Regions from separate parts of the Homo sapiens genome. Here regions 1, 2 and 3 are each linked to region 4. The links are contacts of gene promoters, found by promoter capture Hi-C in blood cells and fetal thymus (Javierre and others, 2016). All regions are on one chromosome and are shown on one strand. The core of a region is centred on a gene start or on the middle of the fragment in contact, and the rest is flanking DNA. Distances in the headings are between cores, read along the strand shown. Region 1 overlaps CREBRF (CREB3 regulatory factor). Region 2 overlaps CREBRF (CREB3 regulatory factor). Region 3 overlaps CREBRF (CREB3 regulatory factor). Region 4 holds the start of ATP6V0E1 (ATPase H+ transporting V0 subunit e1).

Region 1 (3,022 bases), core at 332-2,831, 76 kb after region 4:
GATTCATCAATTTTTTTTTTTTTTTTAATTTGAGACGGAGTCTCGCTCTGTCGCCCAGGCTGGAGAGCAGTGGCCAGATCTCGACTCACTGCAAGCTCCGCCTCCCGGGTTCACGCCATTCTCCTGCCTCAGCCTCCGGAGTAGCTGGGACTACAGGCGCCCGCCATCACGCCCGGCTAATTTTTTTTGTATTTTTAGTAGAGACGGGGTTTCACCATGTTAGCCAGGACGGTCTCGATCTCCTGACTTCGTGATCCGCCCCCCTCGGCCTCCCAAAGTGCTGGGATTACAGGCGTGAGCCACCGCGCCCAGCCTCTTTTTTTTTTTTTTTTTTTTTTTTTTTAAGACGGAGTCTCCGTCTGTCGCCCAGGCTGGAGTGCAATGGCACGATCTCGGCTCACTGCAACCTCCGCCTGCCGGGTTCTAGCAATTCTCCTGCCTCAGCCTCCCGAGTAGCTGCGACTACAGGCGCGTGCCACCATGCCTGGCTAATTTTTTGTGTTTTTAATAGAGACGGGGTTTCACCACGTGCTGGTCAGGCTGGTCTCGAACTTCTGGCTTTAGGTGATCCACCCACCTCAGCTTCCAAAGTTCTGGGATTACAGGTGTGAGCTACTGCGCCCGGCCTGATTCATCAATTTTTGTAGTACTTTGGCATGACTGACTCAGTTCTGTTAATAATGATACATAAAAACGTAATCCCTGATTATTTGATAAACTTGAATTCTTACGTATAACTTTTGCAGTAAATAAGGGTATTAGCTTATTTATCAGTTCTTCTTTTTCTTTTTTTTCTTTTTTTTTTTTTTTTGAGACGGAGTTTCGCCCTTGTCGCCCAGGCTGGAGTGCAGTGGGAAGATCTCGGCTCACTGCAATCTCCGCCTCCCGGGTTCAAGCAATTCTCCTGCCTGAGCCTCCTGAGTAGCTGGGATTACAGGCGCCCACCACCACGCCCGGCTAATTTTGTATTTTTAGTAGAGACGGGGTTTCACCATGTTGGCCAGACTGGTCTTGAACTCCTGACCTAAGGTGATCTGCCTGCCTTGGCCTCCCAAAGTGCTGGGATTACAGGCGTGAGCCACCGCGCCTGGCCTATCAATTCTTATTTTATCAGGTGGCATTGTGTTGCTTTTGGAACCCTAGCCCTTACAATGCCCTAATTAGTTTAACAGAGAAGTATAGTGAAAATAAAAATAAACACTTTTCATTGATACTTAGAATATTCCAGGCAGTTTTCACTGTTGCATCGGTTGATAAAGTCAATCAGCATTGCTTATATAATGCTCTCTTATTCTAAGAATGGCAAATAGATGCAATAGAACTTATTTGGGTATAATTCCTTCATATGACTGGTATATCAGCTTTGGGTTTTTTATATTCATAAGCATAGAAGAGGCTAAATAGCTCCCGAAGAGAGTCTGGATGCTCCATTTACCATCATTCTCTGTCATGGCAGGTGAAAGCAAGCTTTTATATAGACAATGTTCTACTTAGTTTACAGGGTGTCTACTTAGTTTACAGGGTGGATGTGTGTGGGTTCTGGGATACTAGTGTAAGAAGTAAAGGAATAACTAGCATGGTTCCTGGTGGTGGTTAAATACAAGTGACAGTGAAGTACAGTAAGTTTGTGTGTTGATTCTGTTAATATAACTCAGTTTTTAAAAGATAAAGAGAACTGAAATCACTGTTTGCTTTTAAAGCTTAATTTTCAGTCAAGATCGGCATCTATATATTTATTTAAAAAATACATATATATATATATGTTTTTTTTTTTTTTTGAGACGGAGTCTAACTGCGTTGCCCAGGTTGGAGTCCGGTGGCGTGATCCTGGCGCACTGCAACCTCCGTTTCCTGGGTTCAAGCGATTATCCTGCCCCAGCCTCCCGAGTAGCTAGGATTACAGGCGTGCACCGCTATGCTCAGCTAATTTTTGTATTTTCAGTAGAGACAAGGTTTCACCAAGTTGGCCAGGCTGGTCTTGAACTCCTAATCTTAAATGATCCGCCCGCATTGGCCTCCCAAAGAGCTGGGATTACAGGTATGAGCCACCGTGCCCCCTCTAGTTATGTGATTTTGAAATGAATTAGCAGTCGCTTGTTTCCAAGTAGGGTTGAACTTGGATTTTTTTGAGGAACAATTCACTGACACTTTCACCATATTCAGTAGCTCATTTCGGGATAGGTAAACTCTTAGACGAGACATAAATTTGTCAGATAATTGGTTCTGATTATTTTAAGACAAGGGTTGACAGACTTTTTTTTTTTTTTTGGAACAGGATCAAATAGTTAATATTTAGGCTTTTTCAGCCTTCCAGTCTCTGCCACAACTACTCAACTTTGAATCTGTAGCATGGAAACAGCTGTAGAAAATATGTTCTACATATTTTTGGGCTCTATTCCAATAAAACTTTATTTACAAGGTCAGGCTGTGCCTCTATTTGTGCTTCCACGGCTATAGTTTGTCAGCCCCTGTTGTAAGACATCAGTCATTGAGGTTTTTTGTTTGTTCGTTTTTTGAGACAGAGTCTAGTTCTGTCCCCCCTGCTGGAGTGCAGTGGCACGATCTCGGCTCACTGCAACCTCCGCCTCCCGGGTTTAAGCGATTCTCCTGCCTCAGCCTTCTGAGTAGCTGGGATTACAGGCGCCTGCCACCGTGCCCAGCCAAGTTTTGTATTTTTAGTAGAGACGGGGTTTCACTGTGTTGGCCAGGCTGGTCTCAATCTCCTGACCTCCTGATCTGCCCGCCTCAGCCTCCCAACGTGCTGGGATTACAGGCGTGAACCACCACATCTGGCCCAGTCACTGAGTTTTAAGTACTTAGATGTTAAGGTATTTCAGAATATACAAATAGACACTTTAGGTACATTTGAGCATTTGCAGATTGTACAGTCTCCTGCCTTGAAGAGAATTTTTAGTACAAGAGCATATGGCAACATTGTATTTTGTATTTTTCCTTCGTTTACATATAAATGTTTTCTTGAAAAGCTGTTTAAAGCAAATATTGGTATAAATCCTGTTGATTT
Region 2 (3,226 bases), core at 389-2,888, 120 kb after region 4:
TAACTGTTGCTCAGAAATCATTCTGCTTTCCAAATTGATTCTTTTTTTTAAAGTCATGTTTATTGTGGTATAATTTTCACACAGTAAAATTCACCCCTCTTACAGTGTACACTTCTATGAGTTTTGACAAATCATGTAATCACCACTAATACCAAATAGTTTGATCACCCCCGAAAATTCCCTCTTCTATTTTATTTTATTTTATTTTATTTTATTTTATTGAGATGGAGTCTTGCTCTTGTTGTCCAGGCTGTGGTGCAATGGCACGCTCTTGGCTCACTGCAACCTCTGCCTCCTGGGTTCAAGCGATTCTCCTGCCTCAGCTTCCTGAGTAGCGGGGATTACAGGCACCCACCACCATGCCCGGCTAATTTTTGTATTTTTAGTAGAGATGAGGTTTCGCCATGTGGGCCAGGCTGGTCTCGAACTCCTGATCTCAGGTGATCCGCCCACCTTGGCCTCCCAAAGTCCTGGGATTACAGGCATGAGCCACCGCACCCGGCCCCTTATATTCTTTTATAGTCATCCCTTTTCTCCACTGCCAATCCCTGGCAACCACTGTCCATATAGGTTGCTTTTTCCAGAATAGTATATAAATGGAAGCATGCTCCTGATTCATTCTTTGTCTGGAGAAAACTTAGTTCCTCAAAGCAAACATATCATCACCTTCTTATGTTTTCAGGAAGGAAAAATTACCTTTTTACTTATGGCCAATGCTGCCCAAGTTTTCCTGGTTACCTTAGGTTTGGATTGTGTACATTCTTCGCACAGCCCATTCCGTCTTGTTCATGTACCTAGCGTTAATGATCTGGAGTACATCAGAGGTGGCCATTCTCTGAGGGTATTTTAGATTTATAGGTCATTCAATACTGGGTCTGACCAACAGTTCTAGCAACTCAGAATTAAGTATTTTCTGAAACTTCCTATTAGGAAAATACCCCCTTCTTAAACAGTGACGTTAATACAAATAGCTTTCAATAAAATATTAACTGGAATAGGCATATAAGTTTTTTATCTGATAGCCAGTGTGAGAACCGTCATCTTTTATACTTTTCCAAAAGAAGTGGTGTGACAGGTAGGAAGAAAACTAATGCTGCCACATAGAATTCTGCCTAGTAGAACACCATCATAGAAGTGTATACAGCTGGGCTAGGCATGGTGGCTCATGCCTGTAATCCCAGCACTTTCAGAGGCTGAGGCCAGAGGACTGCTTGTGAACCCAGGAGTTTGAGACCAGCCTGGCAACATAGTGAGACCTCTGTCTCTACAAAATTTTTTTTTTTTTTTTTTTTTTTTTGGAGACAGAGTGAGCGTCTCATTCTGTTGCCCAGGCTGGAGTGCTGCGGCACAATCTCGGCTCACTGCAACATCCGCCTCCTGAGTTCAAGTGATTCTCATGTCTGTGCCTCCCGAGTAGCTGGGATTGCAGGCGTGCACCACCACGCCCTGGCTAATTTTTGTGTTTTTTAGTAGAGACGATTTTGCCATGTTGGCCAGGTTGGTCTCAAACTCCTGACCTCAAGTGATCTACCTATCTCAGCCTCCCAAAGTGCTGGGATTACAGGTGTGAGCCACCACGCCTGGCCTACAAAAAATTTTTTAAAAATTAAAATAAAAGAAAAATATTTAAAAAAAAAGAAGTATACATAGCTTTCTGTCTGAGATGTTTCAGATACAAATATTAGAAGGAAGACATTTAAAAATCATAGTTTATGTATCTAAGTACCATTATCTGATGGTACTTTTGATATTCCTATAGCTGTCCTGTAATTGTTCTCTTAATCCTGTTTGAAGATAATAAAAATAGTATCGTATACTAACTTATAAAAACTAAAAAGAAACCCAAGGAAGATGAACAGTGTAGTTATCTATGTTTATTAATCTCGGAATGTTTTATGAGTTAGAGATTTACATATTAAAAGTTCTCTTATAGACCTGGTTTATTATCTTTGACATGCCAATGATGTTTTCAGATGCAAGGAAATATACCAAGTTACAAATAGAAGGGGTCTTTTCATTTGTTCTGATTGATTTATTGAAATTTATGGAGCTTAAAAATTGCGGGACCTTTTTTTAAGGCTATGAAAATGATTCTGTAGAAGACCTGAAGGAGGTGACTTCAATATCTTCACGGAAGAGAGGTAAAAGAAGATACTTCTGGGAGTATAGTGAACAACTTACACCATCACAGCAAGAGAGGATGCTGAGACCATCTGAGTGGAACCGAGATACTTTGCCAAGTAATATGTATCAGAAAAATGGCTTACATCATGGTAAGAGGGGATTGCAGTCAGATATTTAGTGTCACTTTAATCAAGTTGAGCTACTAATCCATAATGTTTACTCCGTGTACCTAGGCATTCAGCCCTTCCTAGCAAACTGGAGATGGGGACTGTAGAGCTGCTACATTTGTGTGACTACTCTTCGTCACTCACAAATAGCTTTTACCAGTGTTAAGAGTCCTCACCTAAGTGGAGAGGAAGGACTGTGTAAACATTATTTCATTTCTAGTCCCTTCTTAATCTACCTACCCCATTCAGGAAATGACTAGGAGGCTGCTGGTTTCTGACCTGTCACAGTTGGTATAACCAGAAGGGTTGAGGAGAAAGTGAACGGGCTCTCTTGCATTCTTGTGTAATCCCCAGATGTAAATGGGGGGACTGGAATTCAAACGGTAATGGGGATAAAAGGGCAAGGAAAGAAAAGAAAGGGAGGATGGTTATGGAGAAAAGGAGTTGTAGAGAAGAGTTGAATACCTGTAGCAGGAATCAGAAGTTTATAATCTTAGGTAGGTCAGGCCGTGTGCTGCAGCTCATGGTTGTAATCCTAGCACTTTGGGAGGATCACTTGAGTCCAGGAGTTAGAGTCTGCAGTGAATTGTGATTATGCTACTGCACTCCATCCTGGGCGATAGAGTGAGATCCTGTCTCTAAAAAAATTTTAAAAATGACAGTCTTAGGTAGGTCAAATTTTTTATTGTGAACTCAGGAAGCTGTGATTAAGTAGAATTTATTCTGCACAAATGTTATTTTTAAATTAATCCATAGTTTCTAGTTCTTCTGCTCTGAATAAAAAAAATTAATACAAAGTCTTTACTGAAAAAAGTGGGGAGGGGAACTACTAGTAAGTGTGATGGTCAGTAAACAGGTTATTCACTCATCGTACGAATGTGAGTTGCAAAGGATTTTTGAGGACAAGAATTCCATCTGATGTATGTTTGTGTCTC
Region 3 (3,285 bases), core at 213-2,712, 96 kb after region 4:
TACTGTGATGAATGTTAGATGATTCGGAAGAGCTACTTACTGTTGTGAGGAACCAGTTTCCTTAAGTTACTAAAAGGGGGCTTAAGCCAGTTCCATATAAAACAAGAGCTGCAGGGATTCTGGCCATCATATACAACATCTCCTTATTCATAAAATACTCTCATTTACAAAAAGGTTTATGTATTTATTATTATTAATGTATAATAAATATATATTTATTATTCGTAAAATACTCTCATTTACAAAGAGGTTTATATATTTCTTGATGTGAAGTTTTTCTTTTTCTTTTTTTTTTTTTGAGACGGGGTCTTGCTCTGTGGCCCAGGCTGGAGAGCAGTGGTGCGATCTCGGCTCACTGCAAACTCTGCCTCCCGGGTTCACACCATTCTCCTGCCTCAGCCTCCCAAAGTGCTGGTGAGTATTTTTAGTAGAGATGGAGTTTTGCCATGTTGGCCAGGCTGGTCTTGAACTCCTGACCTCAAGTGATCCACCTGCCTTAGCCTCCCAAAGTGCTGGGGTTACAGGTGTGAGCCACTGCGCCCAGCCGACCCTATTGCTAGTAAGGTTAATTTTTCAGATTTTAAAGGGTATCAAACTTTTCTCCCAAATCCAGGTTTTATGCCAAGATTATACTGATCCACTTTATTGAACACATGACTTGAATTAGATGCCTTTAGGGAGGCCTAAGTCATAGGTCTAGAAAAAGTGACTGACCTTCTTTCTCATAGGAATCAGGGGAGAGAATTAGGGCAATGATTATGACTACATACCAGTTGTAGGACGACGGCATGAGGTCACATAAGGAGAGACTGCACAAGAACAGGCCTTTGGCAGGAACAGGGAGCAATCTAGTTATACTGTAGCACTGAATTGAAAAGCATAGTTAACTGTTTCTAGGTGGGCACTTGACATTGTTTCCTAGGTTAGACCAGTGAGCTGGGAACGACAGCCCACTGGAGGGGAGAGTGCAGCAAAGATCCAGAAAATGTGAATTATAGTCAGTTTATTAATCTAATTAAGTAGAACAATGATTGAGTCCCTGGGTGTGGTGTTGCTTGCCTGTAATCTCAGCTACTTGGGAGGCTGAGGCAGGAGAATCACTGGAACCCAGGAGGTTGAGGTTGCAGTGAGCCAAGATTGGGCCACTGCATTCCAGCCTGGGTGACAGAGTGAGACTCTGTCTTTTTTAAAAAAAAAAAAAAAAAAGGAAATTAATACAATGTACCACTGTAACCCTCTAGCCCAGACAATGTGCTGACTTCAGAAGGCAAATTCAGTGTAAATTGACTGTTTACCAATATAAGAAGTGACACTGCTTCTGGACTGAATTAGATCAAGGATAGGACAGTGGTTCTCAAACTTTAGAGAGGACCACAATCACCTGGAGGGCGTATTAAAAAACATTGCTGGTACCCACTCCTAGAGGTTCTGTTTTGATTCTTCATTTTAAACAAATTTTTAGGTTGTTGCTGATGTAGTACTGCTGATCCTTGGATCATACTTTGAGACCCACTGATCTTGGACAGGAAAATGAAGCGAGTATAACTGTTTAGTTCCTCCTGGTTAAAGTCTTCATGGAGAAGGGAAAAAACACTAACATTTAAGTCTGTACCCTGTCAAAATCCTGTGCCAGATGATTTGTAGTCATTGTTTTACTTAACCCTTGAAACCACTCTGCAAAGCAGTCCTCAGGCCCGTTTTCCCTCAAACATACACCTGTTAAAAACTTGCTGGAATGATTCTTTCTTCAATGAGAGCTTATACTTATAACTGAAAGAATAATGTTGGCATATACCATTACAAATGTGATTTTATTTAATGTAGAGGATATGTTAAGTTCCATTGCTGACTATTATGTATTCATTACTCTTCTGTTGACTTATGAGAGAGATAAAATGTAGATTAATTTAGCAGTAATGATTATACAATAGATGGAATTAAATTTTGAGATATGTTTTCTCATAAAGAACATAAAATGAATGAGAGCTTGACTTTAAAAATCAATATATTACATCTTTCAGATCACAGAAAAAATAAGCCTATGTTAATTTTGTGTTTTTTTTTTTTAATGTTGCCAATTGGTTATTGACCAGCTCTATTTTAGAAAAATATAAGAGGAGGAATGGTAAATTTCAGAATAGTAAGTATTAAGATATGACCAAATCCTTGATAACTCAACCATAAGACTTACTCATTTAAAGTACAGTATTCTCTGCTAATATTATTTTTCAAAAGTCAACTTTTTTTTTGAAACATCAACTTGTTTTTCCTGGAATTCAGTGAAGTTACTTTGTGTTGTTTGACAGACAGCATCGCACAGAATTATTTTAAAAAAAAGCAGTGATCCAAGCAATTGAATTGGAAGCACTCTGGGGAAACCTGCTGTTTATTGTGGAAATCATCTTCGATCTTGGAATTGAAAGTAAAGCTGGAAAGGAATTTACAAACAAGAAAAAAAAGAAGTTTGGAATCGGATTCACAGGATCTGGGCTTGGAAATGCCTCAGGTAAATCATACAGAGTAGGTGCAAAGTTTTTTATTTTCCCACTACAGAAAGTCAATACCTTTGACTCTTAAATGAATCTTAACACAACTTTGCATACTACCTTTTTGTGATATCTCATTTCTGATCTCAGCTAGTTTTGAGTACATGTTCTTCCTTCCATTGGCTTCTATTTCTTACTTTGCTATCACTTGAAGTTTAATGAGTTCTACATAGGTAGTATGATAAATAGGTAGAAGGTGGACAGATCTGCTGGCTTTATGGGGCAAAACCAACTCCCTTGAAAATTAGTCTGCCACAGCAATCCCGTTTCTATCTCCTCACTATTCCTATTTCCCAATTCTTACCTTTCATTTATGCTAGCTGAATTTAGAAGTAATTAAGAGGAAATAGTGAGAGACTTCAGGCTGCCTCCCCCAACCCCTCTCATCTCTCTCTTTCTCATAGACACACACACATACCTATGTGTGCACATGTAAATATCTCCCCACAAAATATATCTAAGAATGATTGTATCTGTTTATATTATGGCAGCTACTCTGAATTGATCAGTTTTGGTTTTAGGCAATCAGTGAGACAATCAGTGAAGCCCTGTTAGTCCCCATTCTGCTTATCTAAACTCCTCCTTTTCTTCTCCAGTGTTTAGCTCTTGCCCCTCCCCTGTTTGTTTCAGTGCTGGGGAGAAACCTAGAAGTAATGAGTGGGCAGGGACTCTTGGGTGGCTTTTTGTGTTGCCATACTGAGCTATCCCTTGAGCACAGGGAATCAACAATTTGCTGGGA
Region 4 (3,354 bases), core at 263-2,762:
ACCTGTAGTCCCAGCTCCTCAGGAGGCTGAGGCAGAAGGATGGCTTGAGCCCGGGAGTTCCAGGCAGCAGTGAGCTATGGAGCACCACTGCACTCCAGCCTGGGTGACAGAGCAAGGCCCTGTCTCAAAAAACAAACAAACAAACAAAACTGTTTTACCTTTCTTTTTCTTTCTTTCTTTTTTTTTTTTTTTTTGAGGCAGAGTTTCACTCTGTCGCCAAGGCTGGAGTGCAGTGGTGCGATCTCAGCTCATTATAACCTCTGCCTCCCAGGGATTCAAGCGGTTCTTGTTCCTCAGCCTCCTGAGTGGCTGGGACTACAGGTGCATACCTGGCCAATTTTTGTATTTTTAGTAGAGATGGGATTTCACCATGTTGCCCAGGCTAGTCTTGAACTACTGACCTCAGGTGATCTGCCCGCCTCGGCCTCCCAAAGTGCTGGGATTACAGGTGTGAGCCACCATGCCTGGCCTGTTTTTCTTCTTACCATTCTGGCTAATTTCTACTTGTCTTTCAAGGCTCAGCAAGGACGAGTTGGGTAGAAAGCCTTGCAGGGTCGTCCACTTACTTTCACACTGCATTGAGTCGCCTGTTTGCAAGGTCATCTGCTCCCCAGAATGTGAACTCCCTCAGGGGTGCCTGATTGACTTCTGTAACTCCAGAGCCTGGCACAGCACACAAGATAAATAGTGGTGCGCTAGTTAAGAGCTCTGGCCTTGAAAATCAGATAATCAGGGGTTGAATCCTGGCCCTGCCACTTACTATGTGACTTTGGGCAAGATCCTTATCCTCTTCCCTGGGCCTCAGTTTCTTCAACTGCAAAGTGGGGATAATAATTACAATTACCTCATAGGCTGAAGTGAGGAGTTCAACACGGGCTCATGCACTTTTTTTTTTTTCTTTTGAGACAGAGTGTTGTTCTGTTGCCCAGGCTGGAGTGCAGTGGCGCAATCTCGGCTCACTGCAACCTCCACCTCCCGAGTTCAATTGATTCTCCTGCCTCAGCCTCCTGAGTAGCTGGGACCACAGGCGCGCACCACCACACCCAGCTAATTTTTGTATTTTTAGTAGAGACAGGGTTACACCATGTTGGCCAGGCTGGTCTCGAACTCCTGACCTCAAGTGATCCGCCTGCCTCAGCCTGCCAAAGTGCTGGGATTACAGGCGTGAGCCACCGCACCCGGCCTGGGGCTCATGAACTTAAAGATCATGGCCCAGTGCCAGGCACACGGGAATTCAGAATAGTAAGGGACAACTATTGTTAAGTTCTCTATGTCTGTTGCATAAGTAGATGAGGCTGTAGATAACTACACTCTTTGTCTAAAAGGGCCAAGTTCTCATCAGAACACTTTGCTGAGCCCCGGGTGACCGAATCCCTAGCTCTGGGGTGAGCGACATGCCTCCAAGGAGCTGCAGCCAGGAGACAGCCAGGCGAAGGCGGGGCTCTGCCTCTGGGCTCCCCGAGGGGCGGAGGCCGGCGCGCGGGTCACGTGGGGGCGCGGGAGGCGGGGCTTGCACACGCTGGTCACGCGGTCAGCTATTGACACTTCCTGGTGGGATCCGAGTGAGGCGACGGGGTAGGGGTTGGCGCTCAGGCGGCGACCATGGCGTATCACGGCCTCACTGTGCCTCTCATTGTGATGAGCGTGTTCTGGGGCTTCGTCGGCTTCTTGGTGCCTTGGTTCATCCCTAAGGGTCCTAACCGGGGGTAAGTGCGTGAGGCCCGCCTTGGGAGGAACGGGCGGTGAGGAGCTAGCAGGCCGGGGCGGGGAAAGGCACGACCCCCACACGGGTCAGAGAACGTTGCATGGGCGCCCCCCGCGCTGCAGAGTCAGGCCCCCGACCCGGCGGAACTCCTTGTGTTCCTTTTCGCAGCAGCTTCAGTGTCCTCCGGCCTGAGCGAGTGGAGGGTGACCTTTGGTGGACCCCCCTTGGAAACGAGTTTCAGGGGAATTTTTTCTCATCATAGTCCTGTGTGGGGAGGTGCAGTCGGAAATGAGCAGGCCGAATCTGGGAGAAACTGGGGTTTGTCCCTAGTCGACTGTCCCCCTTTAGCCCTGCCTTCCACCCACATGAGGCCTCGTTTGCCTGAACTTAAGGATCAAATAAATAAAACAGAAATTGGCTTCTCTGCCTCCCATGCTGTCGCGGTTGCGTACAGAACAAGCTCCTTCGACAACATTGAGCCCAGGCCTTGCATCTAGTGGGCGCCAGGAGGCGGTTGGGGCCTGATCTAAAGCGAGATTAATTACCAAAGAGCAGGAGGTATTGTTGAGAAACCCCTGCGTCATGCCTTTTGGAGGGCGCTCCGGCTCTTGTATGTGAGTGTAAGAAGTGCTTAGAATGATTGGCTAAGAAAGATTTTGTTTTTCCAGACTTCTTTGTTGGTTAGAGCTTTGTCTCTTTTGGAATTAAACTTTTTAACTGTAGTATAAAATAGAGGCTTAATCTTCAAAGGAGCCTTGGAACACCCTCTTCCTGGTTCCTCTTTTGCTTCTCAGTCATTTTTTTCTCAGTTCAAGATGATGAGAGGTGAAACTTCGACTGAAGTCAGTTTGTCAGAAACACCATCTCTTGCTTTATTCTTGAACCTAATTGGTGGCTTCATAGTGCCTGGTTTTCATAGTACCTTGTATGCACAGGAGGCACCCAATAAATACCTGTTGAGTGAATAGTTCTATTGTCTTTATTAAAAGAAAAAGATTTTTGGCCAGGTGCCGTGGCTCACGCCTGTAATCCCAGCACTTTGGGAGGCCAAGGCGGGCGGATCACGAGGTCAGGAGATCGAGACCATCCTGGCTAACACGGTGAAACCCGTCTCTACTAAAAACACAAAAAATTAGCCGGGCGTGGTGGCGGGCGCCTGTAATCCCAGCTACTCGGGAGGCTGAGGCAGGAGAATGGCGTGAACCCAGGAGGCAGAGCTTGCAGTGAGCCGAGATCGCGCCACTGCACTCCAGCCTGGGCGACAGAGCGAGACTCCGTCTCAAAAAAAAAAAAAAAAAAGAAAGAAAAAGATTTTTACTACTTCCCTAATATTTTGTGACCTGAACCCCTTTTGCTCCCTGGGATACATTTGCTTTATTAGTCTAAAATTATTTTTTTTTAAAAGATACATGGTAGATGAATTTTTATCATTTTTAAGTATCAAGTTCCTCCTCCCTGGTAACACCAGTTATATGGGGTCATCTCTCCTACCTATAGAGGTTGATGGACAGAGTCAGAATTCTGGCATTATTAAAGCAATTGTATTTACCAAAGTTAATTAGACTTGTTTTTCCTACTGGAGTTAGCGAACAACAAAGTGCTTCTTTGTTGTGTTTATATCTTCAACTGTTTCATTACCCTACTGTCTG

The links. Contacts are between HindIII fragments. The CHiCAGO score rates a contact against its expected background, and 5 or more counts as called.
Region 1: a fragment that was not itself captured here is called in contact with the fragment with the promoter of ATP6V0E1 in region 4 in 1 of 17 cell types (naive CD4 T cells); the score reaches 5.2 in naive CD4 T cells.
Region 2: a fragment that was not itself captured here is called in contact with the fragment with the promoter of ATP6V0E1 in region 4 in 5 of 17 cell types (naive CD8 T cells, naive CD4 T cells, non-activated CD4 T cells and 2 more); the score reaches 7.2 in naive CD8 T cells.
Region 3: a contact is called between a fragment that was not itself captured here and the fragment with the promoter of ATP6V0E1 in region 4, in 1 of 17 cell types (naive CD8 T cells). The highest score is 5.0, in naive CD8 T cells.

What each region holds. Positions count from the first base shown.
Region 1 is chr5:173,058,471-173,061,492 of GRCh38, forward strand. All of the region lies in intron 1 of CREBRF (CREB3 regulatory factor), which reads left to right. Among named protein-coding and RNA genes, the nearest start is that of CREBRF, 3.6 kb to the left of the region's middle. The HindIII fragment of the contact is 233 bases long and covers 1,466-1,698 here.
Region 2 is chr5:173,106,546-173,109,771 of GRCh38, forward strand. CREBRF (CREB3 regulatory factor) reads left to right here. Exons shown (of 9, transcript NM_153607.3): 5 at 2,079-2,273. Among named protein-coding and RNA genes, the nearest start is that of BNIP1, 36 kb to the right of the region's middle. The HindIII fragment of the contact is 3,294 bases long and covers 1-3,226 here.
Region 3 is chr5:173,078,279-173,081,563 of GRCh38, forward strand. It overlaps CREBRF (CREB3 regulatory factor), which reads left to right. Exons shown (of 9, transcript NM_153607.3): 2 at 2,307-2,506. The coding sequence starts at 2,498. Among named protein-coding and RNA genes, the nearest start is that of CREBRF, 24 kb to the left of the region's middle. RefSeq lists a silencer at 3,098-3,285. The HindIII fragment of the contact is 8,132 bases long and covers 1-3,285 here.
Region 4 is chr5:172,982,259-172,985,612 of GRCh38, forward strand. ATP6V0E1 (ATPase H+ transporting V0 subunit e1) reads left to right here and starts at 1,513. Exons shown (of 4, transcript NM_003945.4): 1 at 1,513-1,706. The coding sequence starts at 1,603. RefSeq lists an enhancer at 1,328-1,622 and a silencer at 1,388-1,567. The HindIII fragment of the contact is 8,334 bases long and covers 1-3,354 here.